Linked DNA regions of Homo sapiens: all the other regions are linked to region 1. Evidence: promoter capture Hi-C in 16 types of primary human blood cells and fetal thymus (Javierre and others, 2016). All regions are on one chromosome and are shown on one strand. The core of a region is centred on a gene start or on the middle of the fragment in contact, and the rest is flanking DNA. Distances in the headings are between cores, read along the strand shown. Region 1 holds the start of H6PD (hexose-6-phosphate dehydrogenase/glucose 1-dehydrogenase). Region 2 overlaps TMEM201 (transmembrane protein 201). Region 3 has its middle 3.6 kb from the start of SLC25A33.

The links. The method cuts DNA at HindIII sites, captures the fragments that hold promoters and counts their contacts. A CHiCAGO score of 5 or more calls a contact.
Region 2: a contact is called between a fragment that was not itself captured here and the fragment with the promoter of H6PD in region 1, in 1 of 17 cell types (fetal thymus). The highest score is 6.3, in fetal thymus.
Region 3: a fragment that was not itself captured here is called in contact with the fragment with the promoter of H6PD in region 1 in 1 of 17 cell types (fetal thymus); the score reaches 7.2 in fetal thymus.

Annotation. Positions count from the first base shown.
Region 1 is chr1:9,233,502-9,236,077 of GRCh38, reverse strand. It overlaps H6PD (hexose-6-phosphate dehydrogenase/glucose 1-dehydrogenase), which reads right to left and starts at 1,304. Exons shown (of 5, transcript NM_004285.4): 1 at 1,012-1,304. RefSeq lists a silencer at 892-1,451. The HindIII fragment of the contact is 5,189 bases long and covers 1-1,869 here.
Region 2 is chr1:9,592,534-9,595,109 of GRCh38, reverse strand. The region is part of intron 1 of TMEM201 (transmembrane protein 201); the gene reads right to left. Among named protein-coding and RNA genes, the nearest start is that of TMEM201, 4.9 kb to the right of the region's middle. RefSeq lists enhancers at 505-1,101, 905-1,199, 1,102-1,699 and a silencer at 905-1,199. The HindIII fragment of the contact is 5,102 bases long and covers 1-2,576 here.
Region 3 is chr1:9,534,527-9,537,102 of GRCh38, reverse strand. No RefSeq gene overlaps it. Among named protein-coding and RNA genes, the nearest start is that of SLC25A33, 3.6 kb to the left of the region's middle. The HindIII fragment of the contact is 4,795 bases long and covers 1-2,576 here.

The DNA.
Region 1 (2,576 bases), core at 55-2,554:
GAGAAGGTTGCAGTGGGCCGAGATCGCGCCATTGCACTCCAGCTTGGGCAACAACTAACCATCAACCACAGAAAAATGCCAAGGAAAAACTCAGACAGCTTTTCATGATCTTCCAATCATAATGATGAAAAATTAAAGGGATATGATGCATAATTTAAAATACGCTGTCTGGGCGTGGTGCTTCACACCTGTAATCCCAACACTTCGTAAGGCTTAAGCAGGAGGATCGCTTGAGCCCAGGAGTTCGAGACCAGCCAGGGCAACATAGTGAGACCACTGTCTCTACAAAAGGTTTAAAAATTAGCCAGGCGTGGTGGTGTGCGCCTGTGGTCCCAGCTACCCCGGAGGCTGAGGCAGGACGATGGCCTGAGCCCAAGAGGTGGAGGCTGCAGGGAACCGTGTTTGTGCCACTGTACTCCAGCCTGGGCAACCAAGCAAGACCCCATCTTTTATAAGTAAAAGATTTTTTACTTTTATATAAAAAAGTAAAAAGATAAAATAAAAAATATGCCCATTTGACACCAGTTTTCCCTCATCTGCTGCCTTTCATGAGCCATGGGCCTGTTGTGGGTGCAGGGGGAGTGGGCAAGGACACTTCTTTCCAGAAGTTCTCACTTCTGGCTAAGCATTCAAGGTTGGGTGAGCTGATTTTCAGAGATCCAGAGAGGTTTGCCCCTGGAAAACCGTTCACTAGATCCGGGTACGGGAAACGCTATGTGAAACCCGAGGGCCAATCAATGCCAAAGATTAAGCAGGTCCCGGGGGAAATCTCGGAGTTCCCCCTCTCCTGGAACTCAGTTCCGGGAAGCCCAGGGAAAGGACAGCTCGGCCGCTCGGGGCGACCCTGGAGGGAGCCTGGCCGCCTCCTGAGCAGTTCCAAAGCCGCCAGCCCCAGGCTCCGTGGGGCTGGCAGCGCAGGCTCCGGGGCTCGGCGCGGCCTCGGGCCCGGCGGCAGCGCGGGTTGGAGGCGCCGGGGCCGGGGCGGCGGCGGGGCCGGCGGGGGGCGCTTACTTCCTCTCGCGCGGCGGCGCAGGCCGCTCCTCCGGGACACGGCCGGGGCGGCGCTGAGGGCCGGGCCCGCTCCCGAGGGCTCCCCTGCGCCCTGGGCCGCACCTCCTCTTCCGCAGGGCCCGTCACTCCGACAAGTGCGCGTGTCACGCGGCCACGCGCCGCACGACACTCCGATACCGCCCGCGGAGCCCGCGGCGGCCGCAGGGGAAGGCGCGAGGCCAAGGCCAGCCCGGCCGCCACCCCGCCCCAGGCCTCAGGCCTCAGGCCTCCACCGCCTTGCGCTCAGCAAGACTGGGGCCCGGGCCGGGGGCGCGCGCGGCGGGGGCGCGCGCGGCGGGGGCGGGGGCGGGGCGGGGGCGCCGGCGAGGCCACGCCCTCCGCTGGCGGCCGCCGGGGCGGGGCCTCGGAGCTTCCGGGGCGAGGCGGTGGGTCAGCTCCGAGCCTCCGCCCCCGCCCTTCCCTTCGGCCCCCTGGTGGCCGTGCGTCCTAGAGCTGTCCTGCCGCGTCCGAGACGCGCGCGGGACCCAGAAGTGGCCGAGGGACGTGGTTGTGTCGTGGAGGGGACCCGGGGTGCTGGCTGCTCCCTACGATCTGGCACCCGCTCTGGGACTCCTCAGGCCTCGCTTTTCCCCATCTGTAGAATGAGCGGCTCGGTCTTTCCCGTCTTCAATATCCAGAGTAGGGATTTAGAAGTCGGAGCGCACACGCTGGCCACGCCTCCGCGCACAGCTTCAGATCTCTGCCACCCCTTATCACTTGTGTGACCCTGAGTTCAGTTTCTTCATCTGTACAGTGGGGACAATGGGAGTACCTGCCTCCGGGGTTGTCTGGCACTTGGGTGCTTAGTAAGCGGAAGCTTGGACCCGTGTGGCAAATAGAAGACTTTTGCTAAGACATTGCTAAGAAAGACAGCAAATGGAATCAGGGCTTCTCTGTAGGGTGAGAGGTATTTAAGTGAGAAAACGGGATCAGCTGCCTCTCAGAGCACTCAGTCCCCTTCCTGTCCCCCACCATTATCAGGCAGTAGGTGGCCCTCACCATGCTCCCCAACCTGCTCCCCACTTTTTCTTTTTTCTTTCTTTTCTTTTCTTTTTTTCTTTTTTTTTTTTTTTTTTTTTTTTGAGACAGGGTCTCGCTCTGTCACCCATGCTGGAGTGCAGTGGCGCTATCACAGCTCACTGCAGCCTCCGCCTCCCAGGCTCAAGTGATCCTCCCGCCTCAGCCTCCCAAGTAACTGGGATCACAGATGTTCGCCACCACTCCTGACTAATTTTTCAACTTTTTGTAGAGACGGGGTCTCACTTTGTTGCCCAGGCTGGTCTCGAACTCCTGGGCCCAAGTGATTCTCCCACGTTGGCCTCCCAAAGTGCTGGGAGGAGATTCTGACCTGAGAGAGAAACTGTGCTGCAGCTTTTTATTTCCCGATGGTTCCATTAGAGGTGGGAGCGTCTGGAACTAGCAGTGGCAACTTGGCAGTGGCCGGCAGGACTGAATGGGGCCAACAGGCATGATTACCACACAGGATGTTAGGCAAGGGGTTCCGGGAAGGCTGGGAACTGAGGGGA
Region 2 (2,576 bases), core at 29-2,528, 360 kb before region 1:
CCCCCAGTTCCGGAAATCCAGGAACAATGTGGGTGACAGGCAGCAGCTGTGGGAGCCCTGGGGCCCCGGCTTTGCTGCTCCGACTCTCCACCTCTCCCCCAGGGGCCACCTCCAGCTCGAGGACACCGCTTGAGCCCCTGCCAGAGTGGGCAGCCACTCCCTGCACAGACGGCCCCCCGTCCACAGGACCAGAGAGCACGGCCCTCTGGCCTTTCATCCTGAGGCGCTGCTCAGAGAAAGGAGGACGGAGCCCCAGGAAGTTCCTGTACTCTCAGCCTCAGTGTCCACATCTGTGAAGTGGGGGCAACCACAGCACCCCCGGCTTCTGCATGCTGCAAGGACGCAGTGACACAAGACAGAAAGGTGCTGTGCTCTGCAAAGAGCCAGCTCTGTCGCTAACCCATCGGGCTGGCCAGGGGCCTGAGGGGGAGGCTGGGCCCTGGGAAGCAGGGCTCCCGCTTCTGACACTACTGCTGCTGCCCGGCCCTCCCCTCCACCCCCTTCTCCTGACCAGGGGCATATGAAGGGAGATGTGTGATCACCTGTCAGCTGGGGACAAAAGCACCTCCCTCACAAGGGACTGCTCGTGGGACGCACTTAACAGTGACTGGCCTAGAGTATGTACGCAAAAAAGCCAAGTTACATGGAGTGGGGGGAGGCTTGGGAGAGAAGGGGAGATGGGACCAGGCCCTGCGGGGAAGGCCCAGGGCCCACAGGGGCAGCTGGGATCTCCCCCAGCAGCCTCGGCCCACACCCTTCTCACCCCACACCCCCTGCCCCAGCACAGGCCCAAGCCCTCACAGAGGACAAGGACCGCTGCATCTTGTCAACAGCATGGAGACAGCGGGCAAGGCCTGCAGACCAGCGACGAAACGGAGCCAGCCAGCTGGGCAGGCAGTATGGCAACAGGCATGGCCTTGGAGAGCAGCTCTGCCTTCTAGGGCCGCAGTCTCATCCCTCACCTGTCAAAAGGGGCTGCTGAGCATCCCTGCCCCAGGAGAGGCCACTGTGAGGATCCTACAGGAGAATGCAGGGAGGCGCTCAGTGCTCGGCATTAGGACAGCGCCACCGGGCGCCGACTACATGAACAGCCAGGGAAGGAGACTCGCTCTGGGGCATGTGGAGACCTGCTCTGCTGCGGTGCCCGCATCTAGCACTCCCGGGCAACTAAGCACGTGGACTTCCCTGTGCTAATTACTAGCTGTTGTACAGGCTTCTTTGTAACTGTGCATGGGGGCGTGTCCTGATGGGTGAAGACCTGCTTGTGTGACCCCCCACCCCTGAGCCGGACAAGGCTCTGCACCCAACTGACTTTGGGTGACAGGCTTCCTATCCCCACGGAAGGCCCCTCAGCTCTCTTACCCTGTTTGAAAAGGAAGGTCAACCCTTGAGCCTGCCTAGGGGACCAATGACAGCTGAGCAGGGGCTGTGGCTTCTGTCCAGGGTGCCTGCCATGAAGCCCCGCCCACCCCAGGAAGTCATGTTTCCATTCTGAATCTCCTGCTCTGTTGCTAGGGAAATGGCTCCACTGATCTAGAATGAGGCGGCCCGGAAGAGGGGGGAGGCAAGGGATTAGCCCTTGTCCCTGGGGCCAGCAGCTCTAACTCCTGTCACTCTCAGCCCTGGGTAATCCCTGCTAGAGTTGGGGGTGGGCTCTCTGGTGGCCAGAGCAGCTGCCACCCACTTTGGCCAGGCGGGCCCTACCTGCCAGGGGGTCCTCTCCCACAGTGCCTTTGGGGGTGAGCCCTGAAAGGTCCCAAGAGGCAGGTAGGCCAGGGGTCGATGGGGAGCTGGGCATGAATTGCAGGTCCCCCAGGCACCAGCACGGCGGCGTCAGACACATGACCACATGTGAAACACTGTCCACAGCTCGGACGAGGTCCCCACGCAGGTGGGGGAAGTCCTGGCCCCTAGCCTATGCTTGCCTCTGCCCGGCCTGTTGAGGCAGCATCTGGGTCAATCTCTTCTGAGCCAGCCTAGGCTGGACCCTGTTTTTGCTCTGGGAGAAGCCCCCAAGTTTCCCTGATAAACCCCTCAGCCCACTTCTCTTCTGCAAGCCAACAACCTCCGTCCTTAACTTGACTCTGGGACAAACCACAGTTGGTGGGCAAGGTTTGAGGTAACGTGACAGAATGTCCCTGCAACACAAGCAAGAGAGGAGCTCGGGCCTGGAGGGGCTGCCCCTGCCCACAACGGTTCCAGCTCTGGGGGGACAGCAGCTGGCCCTATGGGTCCCATTTGATGGGTGGACACGAGGGCCTGGAGGCCACTATCTCGGCTCCTGCTAGCTCGATGCCGAGCCCCTGGGAAGCCTGAGGAAGCCCGGAGGGAGATGGGTCCCTAAGAAAAAGCTAGGGCAGCTGCATGCTCTGTACCTGCCCCGTCCACAAGCCCAACATACACACTGAGGGAAAACAAGACGGGCACGTGTCCTTAATGATGACACCACTCCAGAGCCCTGAGCACGGACATGTATTGAAACAAAGCTCCTGCGGGATGCCTCACTATTCCCTGCAGGTGGGAGGGGCTCTGTTCTAGGTGCGAGCCCAGCGCTGGGTCCTCAGCCTAGGAAAGCA
Region 3 (2,576 bases), core at 34-2,533, 300 kb before region 1:
TTCAAGCGTTTCTCCTGCCTCAGCCTCCCGAGTAGCTGGGATTACAGGCGCCCGCAACCATGCCTGGTTAATTTTTGTATTTTTAGTAGAGACAGGGTTTCACTATGTTGGCCAGGCTGGGCTCGAACTCCTGACCTCAGGTGATCCGCCCGCCTTGGCCTCCCAAAGTGCTGAGATTACAGGTGTGAGCCACCACGCCTGGCTTGAACCTGCTATTTTCCCTGACTAGGATGGCCCCCTTCCTAGACTTCTAGAGCTCCTCTGACACCAGCTCAGGCATTGGCCATGGCCATGTACTGGGTATACAACAGAGATTCCAATAGATAAAAACCTTTAATGAAACATTGGCAATCAAATCCAGCAATATAGAAAAAGGATAATACATCAGGACGAAATGAGAGATGCCCAGGAATTAGAGATTGGTTTAACATTCAAAAAATCAATCCATATAATTCAGCATATTAAGAGAATAACAGGGACACATGTTCCCAGGACCTCCTGGGGCTGTGTCAACAGCAAAAAAAAAAAAAAAAAAAAAAAAAGGAAAAAAAGAAAAAAAAAACAGTGAAAGAGAAAGAGAGAATAATGGAAAAAAACCTGATGACCATGTAAATTGATGCAGAAAAGCATTTGAAAAAACTGAACACCTATTCATGAAAAAAAGCTCTCAGCAAACAAGGAACAGGAGGGAATTCCTCTATCTGATATAAAGCGTCTACCCCAAACCTATAGCTAACATCACACACAACATTAAATAACTGACCACCTGCCCCTAAGATTGGCAATAAGCAAAGATATTTGCCGTTACCACTTACTCAATGTTGTGCTAGAGGCCCTAGTCAGTGCAGTAAGGCAAGAAAAAAAAATGTGTAAAGATCATAAAGAAGTGAAACTGTCTTCAGTCATAGATGATGTAACTGTTTACTAGAAAATTCTAAGTAATCTATATAACAACTACTAGAACTAATTAGTGAATTTAGCAAGATCACAGGAAATAAGGTCAATATACAAAAAAAAAGGTTTTGCTAGCAGCAATTTTAATATAAAAATTTTAAAAATTATTTTTAGGCCAGGCGCGGTGGCTCACGCCAGTAATCCCAGCACTTTGAGAGGCTGAGGCAGGCAGATCACCTGAGGTCAGGAGTTTGAGACCAGCCTGGCCCATAAGCTGCTACTAAAAATACAAAAATTAACTTCGGCATGGTGGTGGGCGGCTGTAATCCCACCTGCTTGGGAGGCTGAGGCAGGAGAATGGCTTGAACCCAAGAGGTGGGAGTTGTGGTGAGCTGAGAACATGCCATTGCACTCCAGCCTGGGTGACAAGAGTGAAACTCCGTGTCAAAAAAGAAAAAAATTATTTTTACAGGCTGGGTGTGGTGGCTCACCTCTGTAATCTCATCACTTTGGGAGGCCACGGTGGGAGGATCATTTCGGCTCTAGACTAACCTGGGCAACATAGCAAGACCCCATCTCTATTTTATTTTATTTATTTTTATTTATTTTTTTAGATGAAGTCTCACTCTGTCACCCAGGCTGGAGTGCAGTGGCATGATCTCAGCTCACTGCAACCTCCACCTCCTGGGTTCAAGCAATTCTCCTGCCTCTGCCTCACGAGTAGCTGGATTACAGGCACGTGCCACCATGCCTGGCTAATTTTTCTGTATTTTTAGTAGAGACAGGGTTTCACCATGTTGGCCAGGCTGGTCTTGAACTCCTGGCCTCAAGTGATCTGCCTGCCTCAGCCTCCCAAAATGTTGACATTACAGACGTGAGGCACCACACCCGGCACCCAACTCTATTTTAATATTAAAAAATTTTTAAATTATTTTTACATCCCTTCTCGGCCTTTTGGCTAAGATCAAGTGTAAAACGATTTTTATAGCTGGGTGTGATGGCACACACCTGTGGTCCTGGCTACTTGAGAGGCTGAGGCAGAAGGATGGCTTAAGCCCTGACGCTGGGCGTGGTGGTTCACGCCTATAATTCTAACACTTTGAGAGGCTGAAGATTGCTTGAACCTGGGATTTCGAAACCAGCCTGGCAACACAGATGGACCCTCACTCTATAAAAAATTTTAAAAATAAGCTGCGTATGGTAGTGTGTGCTTGTAATCGCAGCTACTCTGGAGGCTGAGGTGGGAGAATCTTTTGAGCCTGGGAGGTTGAGGCTGTTGTAAGCCGTGATCGCACCACTGCACTCCAGCCTGGGAGACAGAGAGTGACTCCATCTCAAAAAATAATAATAAAATAAATAATAAGAGCAAAGAAAGAAACCAGACATAAAAAGTATATGATTTCATTTACATGAAATTCTAAAAAAGGTAAAACTAATCTTTAGTGACTGAGAACAGATGAGTGGATGGATGCTGGGGGCCGGGGATAGGAGAGGACTGACTGCAAAGAGGCTGGAAAAAACTTCTTAGGGGTGACAAAAATGTTTCATACCCTGATCAGGGCATATACATACAATGAGAATCTTTGTTTTTGAGACATAGTTTTGCTCTTGTTGCCCAGGCTGGAGTGCAATGGTACCATCTCGGCTCACTGCAACCTCCGCCTCCCGTGTTCAAGCAATTC